Regions from separate parts of the Homo sapiens genome. Here regions 2 and 3 are each linked to region 1. Evidence: promoter capture Hi-C in 16 types of primary human blood cells and fetal thymus (Javierre and others, 2016). All regions are on one chromosome and are shown on one strand. Each heading gives the region's core, a stretch centred on a gene start or on the middle of the fragment in contact. The rest is flanking DNA. Distances are from core to core; before and after follow the strand shown.

Evidence for each region. The method cuts DNA at HindIII sites, captures the fragments that hold promoters and counts their contacts. A CHiCAGO score of 5 or more calls a contact.
Region 2: a contact is called between a fragment that was not itself captured here and the fragment with the promoter of ITIH1 in region 1, in 1 of 17 cell types (M0 macrophages). The highest score is 5.0, in M0 macrophages.
Region 3: a fragment that was not itself captured here is called in contact with the fragment with the promoter of ITIH1 in region 1 in 7 of 17 cell types (erythroblasts, M1 macrophages, M2 macrophages and 4 more); the score reaches 8.1 in erythroblasts.

What each region holds. Positions count from the first base shown.
Region 1 is chr3:52,775,316-52,778,862 of GRCh38, forward strand. It overlaps ITIH1 (inter-alpha-trypsin inhibitor heavy chain 1), which reads left to right and starts at 2,284. Exons shown (of 22, transcript NM_002215.4): 1 at 2,284-2,417; 2 at 2,682-2,702; 3 at 3,025-3,191. The coding sequence starts at 2,301. RefSeq lists an enhancer at 2,917-3,547. The HindIII fragment of the contact is 3,325 bases long and covers 2,127-3,547 here.
Region 2 is chr3:53,043,170-53,046,474 of GRCh38, forward strand. SFMBT1 (Scm like with four mbt domains 1) reads right to left here and starts at 2,904. Exons shown (of 21, transcript NM_016329.4): 1 at 2,647-2,904. RefSeq lists silencers at 1,943-2,232, 2,593-2,652, 2,753-3,072, 3,123-3,232 and an enhancer at 3,220-3,305. The HindIII fragment of the contact is 2,480 bases long and covers 269-2,748 here.
Region 3 is chr3:53,097,709-53,101,498 of GRCh38, forward strand. It overlaps RFT1 (RFT1 glycolipid translocator homolog), which reads right to left. Exons shown (of 13, transcript NM_052859.4): 11 at 1,673-1,778. Among named protein-coding and RNA genes, the nearest start is that of RFT1, 31 kb to the right of the region's middle. The HindIII fragment of the contact is 250 bases long and covers 2,337-2,586 here.

The sequences.
Region 1 (3,547 bases), core at 1,034-3,533:
CTCCCTTTGACTTGTCTGATTCCCTTTTCCCCTGACATCAGCTCACTGAACACAGCAGGGCACTCAGGTTTCTGTATGGTGGCCTCTCAGTGCCTGGCATTGTGCCCAACACACTGCAGGGCTTGGTCGATACTGGTGCAGGAAATAAGCAGAACTTCAAATGTACACTGTCATGTCGATCCAGCTTCTCTTCTACAAAGGCCAGAAGACAGGCCAGAAGGTGACCGTGGCCTAAGGACAATAAACTCTTCCCAGAAGCTGCTCTGTGAGACAAAGTCCAGGACAAGCAAACAGAGATCAGTGAGGGCTCTGGGCCCCCTCCTCTTATCAGGGTCACAGCAGCCAGCACATCCCAACCCAGGTCACAGACTAGACTGGCCAGGGGCCCTGTCTGCCCAGTATGCTGTGGTTTTTGGGGAACAGGGTGGGTTTGGCAATAAAAAAATAAGAAACTGCAGGTGCAAGATGGGTCTCTGGGAACTCCTGTCTCTAGGATCTTCAAGTCTGCTTCTCTGTCATTACATGATGGCCTTGGGCTTTAGAGCCTGAGAGACCTGGTTTGAATCCCTGTTCTGTCTCTTGGTATGGGGCCAGTGTCCCAGGAACGTTGCGAGGATAAAATTAGACAATAAAGGGTTTAGAGGAATGCATGACACAAATGAGTCCTCGATTATGAAAACATGTCATTCATCTTCAGCTCCCCTTTATCTGCCAGGCCTCCCTGCCCAGGTGCAGGAACGAGGAAGCTCACTTCTGTTCTTTCTAGAACTGGGTAAGAACCTCAGAGAGGTGAAGCAACTGGCCTAAAGCGCAGATCTCCCATCATGCCTCACCCCGACCGTCCAGACTGTCTCTGACAGAGCTAATACCAGGTTAGCACTGTGAGAATCACCAGCATGGCTGGATGTCACACACTTTCTAAGCCACCGTGTCTGCCTCCCTGGCCAAAGCATGACTGAAAAGTGTGTTGATGCTGAAAGAATTTTGAAACAGTCTGGGCAACAAAGTGAGACCCTGTTTCCCTCCCTTTCTTTTCTTTTTTCTTTTCTTTTCTTTTCTTTTTTCTTTTCTGTTCTTTCTTTCTCTGTCTCTCTTTCTTTTCTTTTCTTTCTTTCTTTTTGGAGACAGTCTCGCTCCGTCACCCAGGCTGGAGTGCAGTGGCACAATCTTGCCTCTCTGCAACCACCACTTTCCAGGCTCAAGCTATTCTCCTGCCTCAGCCTCCTGAGTAGCTGGAACCACAGACGCATGCCACCATACCTGGCTAATTTTTGTATTTTTGGTAGAGATGGGGTTTCACCATGTTGCCCAGGCTGGGCTGGAACTTCTGGCCTCAAGTGATCTGCCTCCCTCAGCCTCCCAAAGTGCTGAGATTACAGGCATGAGCCACCTCGCCCGACTGAAACCCTGTTTCAACAAAAAATAAAAATAATCAGCTGGGTGTGGTGCCACATTCCTGTGGTTCCAGGTACTCAGAAGGCTGAGGTGGGAAGATCAGTTGAGTCTGGGAGGTCGAGGCTGCAGTGAGCCAAGATCGCACCACTGTATTCCACCTGTGCGATAGAGGGAGACCCTGTCTTAAAAAAAAAAAAAAAAAAGAAATTTGAAAGTAAAGCCTGGCCGGGCCCAGTGGCTCACTCCTGTAATCCCAGCACTTTGGGAGGCTGAGGCGGGCAGATCACCTGAGGTCAGGAGTTCGAGACCAGCGTGGCCAATGTGGTGAAGCCGTCTTTACTAAAAATACAAAAATTAGCTGGGCATGGTGGTGTGCACCTGTAATCCCAGCTACTCGGGAGGCTGAGGCAGGAGAATCACTTGAACCCAGGAGGTGGAGGTTGCACTGAGCCAAGATCCTGCCACTGCACTCTAGCACTCAAGACCAAAACTCCATCTCAAAAAAAAAAAAGTAAAGCCTAATGAAGTTTAGAAATCCATTTTTAACTGTTGCTTCTTGCCACATGTCACCGTGTCACTGGTGCTGCCTTGTGCCAGCCCGAGGATGAGATGAGCCATCCGGGGATCCTCACAGTTCACATAGGCTAAGCGCAGTTCTACACAGAGGGACATGGTCTGGAGCCCCATCAGTAGTTTAACCACCCAGAGCTGGGAACCCCCCTGAGGCAAAAAGCTTCCACTGCCAAATTTTGATTCCTCTAAATGTGTTAGGTTGATGCAAAAGTCATTGCGGTTTTTGTCATTAATATTTGCCTGCACCTTGTCTAATGTTTAATCCATGTTTATCCAGCACTGTATTGATTACTGGTCTGACTGAGGTGACAGGGCAGCAGGAGCCTTAGAGCATGGACGGTGCCATGGGGCCTCGGGGGCTGCTGTTGTGCATGTACCTGGTATCTCTCCTCATCCTGCAGGCCATGCCTGCCCTGGGCTCGGCTACAGGCAGGTCCAAGAGCAGCGAGGTATATGGCTAAGCCCACAGGGCAGAAATAGGCAGCTGAACCTGGATGAGGCCCCGGGCGGGACACAAGACCCCCATTCAAGGGGCCAGGGTCACCCCCACCACCTCCACCACTTCTGAGTGGAGAGGTGACCTCCCAGCACCACCAAGGAGGTGAAGCTAAGGGGCAGAGGACACAGGCTGTGTTCCACTCCCATCCCTGAACTGGCAGGCCGGTGGTCCCCTGAGTTTTCCTCTCACACTTGACCCTGATTTTGTTTTGCAGAAGCGACAGGCTGTGGACACCGTGAGTAAGAGTCCTGGCAAAGGGGTCTGTGACAGAGCCCTTTTTACAGGCTTGCTTTCCCCAACCTGTCAGGGGTGGACCCCTCTATCAGGGCCATAGGCATGGGGTACTCTCCAGGGTCCTAGAAATGGGGACTTGTTCCCATCTCACCTCATATCCCACAGCACGGTCTCAGCCAGAGAGCAGGGGTCTTCCTGCGGTCTGTTCTTCCTGCATCTGGGCACCATGCACTGGGGCTAAGTGCCAAGTCCCCGTACCACAGGAAGTCCCTCGCTGACAGAGGCCCTGTCTCAGGCCACAGCTCCTTCATGTCTCACTTTAGGCTGTCGATGGCGTGTTCATCCGGAGTTTGAAAGTCAACTGCAAAGTCACCTCTCGCTTCGCCCACTATGTTGTCACCAGCCAAGTGGTCAACACTGCCAATGAAGCCAGGGAAGTGGCCTTCGACCTGGAAATCCCCAAGACAGCATTCATCAGTGACTTTGCCGTGTGCGTGCCTGCCCAACTCCCATGCCTTCTCCCAGGGGTGCCGCTTACTAGTCCCAGCTTAAGAACAAGGATCGGAGTGGCCAGATAACGCAGAGCATCTCCTCATTCTAGAAGGGCCACAGACCAGCCCTGGCTTTGAGGGGAGGAAGAAGCCCTTTAGGTCTGTGCTTGGCTCCCATCTTGGAGGCAAACTGGGACCCATCACAGCATGTTTCAGGCTAGAACCCAAGGAGCCAAGGCCAGAGTCTGAGGCTTCTTGCTGGCCTCTGACCTGGGCTGCTCACCTCATTGCCCATGGACCCCTGAGTTCCACCATGGGCAGTGGAAGGCTCGTCAGGAGACGTCCTTATCCAAGG
Region 2 (3,305 bases), core at 259-2,758, 270 kb after region 1:
GAAAAGGCACAAGACGACATTGGTGAAGGAAATGCAAATTGTTGCAGCATTTGCTTCAGTGGAGAATATTTAAAAGTCCACCTTCCTAGAAAGAGGGTTAATAAAAAAAAAAAGGTATCTTAGTCATGCTGATTTTTTTAATCACACCTGACATAATTTTTAGTTAACCTTTTGTTTTTGCTTTCATTGTTGCACTTTAAATGATTTGATAAACCAGCTGACTATCCTGTATATATAAGTCAACTGCTGTCATTGAAAAGGTTGTTAAAGCTTTACGCACACATTCTTAATTCACTTAACTTTAAGAAACCAATTTTCATTCAATTTTCTCAGCAAATTCTAGGCATTAAGAAACTGATTCATCTACTGACACCTTAAACTCTAACTTGTTAGGAAAATTCATGATTCATTCTTCAAATCTGTTGTCTACAAATATATAGTACCTATATTCTAAAAATGGGAAGTCATAGATTAATACCATTGTCTGTGAACATAAGGACTCCCAAGAACTACCAATCGTAACCTGCAAAGTATTGCCCCCACTGAAAAGTGACCTTCTAAGAAGTTCCTCAGGACAGAATTTTAAGTTATTCTGGATTACAAAAACCCTAAGAATCATTATAAAAGCAAAGGGTCATGGCCAACACGGCCATAACTCCAAGTTTACATACAAGCTATCCTCAGTTTGTTAGTATTGCCCCTTTAACCCTCAAAAGGGTCCTGTTTTGAGGCAAAACTCATCTGTGGTGACAGAAGTCAGAATTGTGGTTGCCTTGGGGAGGGGGAATGTGTTTACTGAATGGAAAGGATACAAGGCCTGAAAATGTTCCATATCTTGATCTGAGTGTGGTTATCAGGGCATATACATATATAAAAAGTCATTGAATTGTACCCTTAAGATCTTTCGGTAGGTTATACATACCTCCATAAAAATACATTGTTAAAAATCTATTCAAATAATCATATAAAACCATTCTGGATCTAGCTACCAAGATGTTTTTTCCAAATGAATTTTAATAAAGACACACATTGCGAGCACTTTTATGTAGTACCTCTCAAAATATACACTGTGATTTCTAAGAATCTTTCAGTTAAGAAAGCCACCGAATTTTCGAACTGAAAGCACCCCCAAACATCATCTGTTTATCTTAATGTTGCAAATAAGGAAAATCAAAGCTACAATGGGTAAGAAATGTGCCCAAGATAAGGCAGTTAGTCAATGACAACGGTAATAACAGAACTGTTTCCTGATCTCTGGCCGTTTCTACCAGGCCGTAACTTTTCTGACATCGCAAACAAATCTTAACTCCGAATCTACCTACGGCCTAATTCAACAAATGCCTCAAAACGCTAGTCAACAGGCCTCAAAGTGTACACATGAAGACACATCTTCCTTCATCCTCTCGCCAGTTGACAAATTAATGATTACACGTTCAGGCATTTTACCCAGATGCAATAAAATTAAGAATGACATCTTAGAAAATGTGGTTCAAGAGAAGACATACGCAGGGATTGACAAAATCCATCTTACTTCCTTTCGAATCTCTTTGATGGTTACTTGGTTCTCAAACACAGATCACTGCTAACAGGACTCAAAAACACCACTTGGGACCATCAACCAGTGCTGCTTCGGGCGACCCGCTGGGAACACCCCCACCTGACCCAAGCGTCCACCACTCCTTGAGCACAAGCTCTGGGGGTGACCTGTGCCTGCCGGCTTAGTTTTAGACCCTACGGGAACAGCTGACATCTTGTGAAAAACTTAGCATAACGTACATCCTTTCCGCGGGAATTTATTTCTGTTCGCACAAGGCGTTTCTGCTCCGCACAGAGCAGGCCTTGCTTCCCAGGACGCCGCTCGCCCCTCCACAGCCTCCTTTTCAGCGTCCAAAATCGGACTTTAGGAACAGAAATCGAAACGGTCGCGGACCTCCCGAGCGGCAGGTCGGGGCGCTGCCGGGTCGGCGCGGGGTCCAGCGGCGGTGCCCGGCGGGCCGCGGCGCGGGAGAGGCCCGCTCACTTCACAACGGCGGCCCGGAGCCACCGGTTGCGGCGGCCACTAGACGCTCCGCCACCGCGCAGCGACCGCCCGGGCCCTCCGAAGTTCCGACCGGCCGCGCGCCCGGCCCCAGCTGCGGGTTCGCGCCCCGCCCGGAGCGAGCCCGGGGGGCGGGTCCGCGGGGGCTCGGCGGGCGGAGCGCGGGGCGCGCGCGGGGAGGGGCGCGCGGCGGGCCCGGCGCGCCGGGGAACTTGGGCGCCCGCCACTGCCGCCGCCCGGCCACTTTCCTTTCACGCCTCCCGCGGGCTGACGCGCGCCGCGCTGCCTGCCAGGGGCTGACGGCCGCCGCCGCTCTCCGCCGCGGCGAGGCGCCCAGGCGCGCCCCTGCAGCCGGCCGGCCGGCGCGCGGGACCGCGGGGCCGCGCGCGGGCGCCGCGCTCCCCCCGCCCCGCCCCCGCCCCCAACGTGCCGCCGCCGCCGCCCGTTGGCGCCTCAGCCCGCGCGCCCGCCGGCGCCCGGCGGTTTCCCGTTGGCAAAGTTGCGCGGCCGCTTCGAAGGGGACGCCGTACGGTCCCCCGCCCCGGCGCCGCCGCCGCCCCTCCAGGCCGCCGCGCGGGAAGGCCCAGCCGGTGGCCCCGCTTTTTTACCTGCCCGGAGTTTTCGCGCGCGCGCTCGCTCGATCGCTCGCTTTTCCCCCTCTCGCGCTCGTTTTCTTTCTTTCTTTCCGTCTTTTCGCTCCCCCGCGCGGAAGCTTTTTCCTCCCGTGCTGCCCGCGCTCGCCCGCTCGCGCCCTCCTTCCTGCTGGGTTCGGCGGAGCGGGGCGGCCGGCAGCTCTCCCCGCCCCCCTCCACCCGCGCTCCGGCGGAGGCGGCGGCGGCGCTCCGCGCTCCGACTCATTCCAATATGGCACGGACGCAGGGCGCATGCGCCCGCGCCCCCCCACCCCCAGCTCCGCGGTCCTCCAGGCAGCCTGCGCCCCTCGCGCCGCGCCCGTGGAGCTCCCGGGCCCGGCTGCCCCGCTCCCGCCCCAGCGCCATCCCTCCTGGCTGGGGCCGCGCGGGAGGCAAGGACTCCGCGGGCTGGTGTGCCGGGGGTCCGGCGCCGCGGGCCACCCACGCCCCCAGCCAGCAACTCGGCGCGGACGGCCCCGAGGCCGTGGCGCAGGACACGCGGCGGCGCCTCGGGCCCCCGACGGCGCTGTGGCCCCGAGCGGAACGGCCCGGAAGAGGAGACGCGTCCCCGGGAACCCAGTGCCCGCCCTGGCCCAGCCCCGATCCAGCCTGCGCCTCACCTCGGGTTGTAGACA
Region 3 (3,790 bases), core at 1,212-3,711, 320 kb after region 1:
ACTCCTAGTCCTGCTCTTTCCACTCTAACAGTGCCTCATTTCACATGTTTCCAATTATATTTTTAAGTTATTCAATGTTAGAAGTAGCTTTCAAATAAAAACATTGTATTTTCAAAGCTAAATTGAAATAGACTTTTTCATCCATAGGGAAAGAAGAGGATAGACTCAAAGCAGTTCTACTCTAAAGCTATAAATTTAACTATCTGAGGTGAAAACCACATCTAGACTACTATTTTAAAACTATGGGTTGTGACCTACTAGGCTGGGAATCAATTTAGAGGGTAATGGCATGGCATTTTTGAAAAACAAAATAGAAGAGAGAGTAGAAAGCATCAGCGTGTCCTACGCATAACTGGGGTACTTCCTGCCTTGTGAACTCATGTCTCAGTCACACACACCTAAGTGCGTCCTAGGTCACAGTGCTCCGTGTCGTTTTTACTGTGAAAGCTGGTCTGGGCCAGCAGTTTCCAAAGCCCTAGAATCAGAATTGCCTAGAGCTGTGTAATAAACAGATTCCCTGGCTCAAGCCTTCTAAGATTCTAATTCAGCTTGGCTAGGAGTGGACCAGAAATTCCTAGATGAATCTCATCAGTCTGGACTGAGACCTGCTGGTCTGGACTCTAGTTCTCAGTCACTGTGTAGCAAACAAAGTCCCCAATCTTTTACATGAGCCAGCGCAGGAAAGGACACACACAGAGGAGGGGGAAGGGTCCCCATTTGAGACACTCCCTCCCCATCCCACCCCATGGCCAGGCTTCTGAGGGCCCTCACCAGCAATCAAGGTTACAGAGGCAGCATGAAAACCCCCATGAGGCTGGGCACGGTGGCTCATGCCTGTAATCCCGGCACTTTGGGAGGCCAAGGCGGGAGAATCACAAGGTCAGGAGATCGAGACCAACCTGGCTGACACGGTGAAACCCCATCTCTACTAAAAATACAAAAAATTAGCCAGGCATGGTGGCACGCGCCTGTAGTCCCAGCTACCTGGGAGGCTGAGGCAGGAGAATGGCGTGAACCTGGGAGGCAGAGCTTGCAGTGAGCAGAGACTGCGCCACTGCACTCAAGCCTGGGCGACAGAGCGAGACTCCATCTCAAAAAAAAAAAAAAAAAAAAAAAAAGAACCACTGGTAGGGGATTCCAGGACAGGAATCCTGATCTGGAGTCAAGAGTTGAGAAAAAATTATGGCAAGATGAGATGTATGTGTGCACTTGGGCTTTTCTCAGGAGAAGTGTCACAGAATCCCTGAGATTCTCAAAGACCCACCAATCAGGTTCTCAGGGGTAGGAATGTGCATCTTGAAGAAGCTCCTCAGTAACTTACTGGAGGACCACTCTTCTGGGGTGAGCAAGGAGGTGGAGGAATGGAAATCTAGCTTGTCTGGTGCCTGACTCTGCAAACCTGGACTAATGTAACCTTTCAGAGCCGATGTTTCTTCCTCCACAAAGGGGAGGCAAAGAGTAGTTGCTGCCTCCCAGCCCTACAGTGGGGAGCACTTGCTGAACCATGCTGGTGCCACAGAGATCCCAGGGGAGCACCACACTGGTGGACTAAGTGTTGCCTCTAAAACAGCCATCTGTAAATGCATGTTCAGAACGAAAAGCAAAAAGCTTGACAAGTTATTTCATTTTGGCTGAAGGCCATGATTAAAGGTGTACCTGCTAGGTTACCCACCTGTCGACCTCCTCTTTGCTCATGGCAGCAAATGTGAAACACTCTGTCACTCCATTGATGGCAAGCAGGAGAACATAGAGACAGTAGGAACGCAGCAAAACAGGACCTACAAGGAAACAACTCACTGAGACTCCAGAGCCCAATCAGAAGGCCCACATGTACCCTCAGTGCTGCTGAGTACCCAGAGAACCAGAACCAGACTATGAGGTCTGCTGGTATCAGCAATGGGCAGACTGCATGCTAGAGCCCAGGGTCTTAATAATCTAGAAGGATTCCCAACATTCTATGGCATTGACTAAATAATCAGCAAAAAACAAAATGACAGGCTGGGCACGGTGGCTCACACCTGTAATCCTAGCACTTTGGGAGGCCCAAGGCCAGCAGACTGCTAGAGCCCAGAGGTTAGAGACCAGCCTGGGCAACATGATGAAACCCCGTGTCTACCAAAAATACAAAAGTTAGCTGTGTGTGGTGGGCATGCCTGTAGTCCCAGCTACTCGGGAGGTTGAGGTGGGAGGATCACCTGAGTCTGGGGAGGTCAGAGCTGCAGTGAGCCATGATAGTGCCACTGCACTCCAGCCTGGGTGACAGAACAAGACCTTATCACACACACAAAAAAGAACAATTATGAATAAATGTACAGATCTCTTGCTGGACAACTAAAAGCTTATCTGGCTAGCAAGCAAGTCTGTTCCCTTTTTTCATCAGCATGAATAGGCCTGCTGGTTTGGACTCAAAGTCAGTAGTGACCCTGCATGTTAAGGGAATCTCAGTTGAGCAGGTCCTGAAGAAAAGACCTTTAACAAAAGCCAGGGGCCCAGGACCAGCAGAAAATTACACAAATCCAAAGTGAGAACCAGTGCCCATAATAGTATTTTCTTCTAAAACAAAGTAATGCAGTTCTATAGCTAACAAGCTTCGGAAAAATCTTCTAAGCAGAGAACAGGAGGCTTACAAATGGGATTGATTCCCCCCTTTTAAGAGGGCCATAATCAAGCACCTAATAAAATAAACAAACACCTAACCTACGACCCAGCAATTGCACCCCTAGGTATATATCCAACAGAAATGAACACACATGTTCACAAAAACACTTACACAAAAGCATCTGTAGCAGTTTGATTCATAATAGCCAAAACTGACCATCAACAGAAGAAAGAATAAACAAAACGTGGGCCATCCACACAAAGGAATACTTAGCAAGAAAAGATAATAAAAATCACTGATCCATGCGAAACCATGGAAGAATCTCAAAAACTTTATATTGAAGGAAATATGCCAAATGCAAGAGCGCACATGCTGCATTTCATTGATATAAAATTACTTTTAAAAGAAATACTGATCCATGGTGATAGAAATCAGATTTCTTCTGATTTCTCTTTGTCTCTGAGGTGGAGTGGGGTAGTTGACTAGAAAGGGTCCCAAAAGAACTTTCTGGGGAAATGGAGATATTCTATGTCTGAATCTGTTTGGTAGTTACATGGGATTTTTTGTACATATTTGTCAAAACTTACCAAACTGTACTCTTAAGAGAACAGCATTTTACTTTATGTAAATTATACCTCAACAAAGGGAGAAAAAAAACTCCCAAAAAAAACACATAACCACTGAAAGAAAAGGAGGGGGACTGAAGTTCCGGAGTCTCAGAATCTGGAACTCATTCAGGGTTTATGAAAGCTGTTTAATACAAAAGATCTCCATGCTGTGGGACCCCTAAACAGTTTTATGGCAGTCACAAAATTATAAAAGGAATACTAACAGGGCAGCCCCGACGCTCAACAAAAAACCGTTTTCCACGGCCCTGTCTCAGATTCCATGTTTATCACCTCACATTGCATTTTGCTTGTCAAGCCGCTGCAGGAAGTAGCCTGGCCCCCACCCCAGCTGACGGTGACTCCAGGAAGGGAGGCGGGGACCAGGCTCTGCACCCGGGAGGCTCAAGGCTATGCTCAAGTGTGCCTCCTGCTTCTCCCCAACCTCCTCTCCCTGGCAGAAGCAGAGAAGAGTGGGGGGCCTCCTTACGTGGTAACTGAACGCTAATGGCACAGGAGGGCCCATCAGTAGGTGAACAGTGGGCTGTCGTGAGGCATGGAGAACACAAACTCTGGCACCAATCAG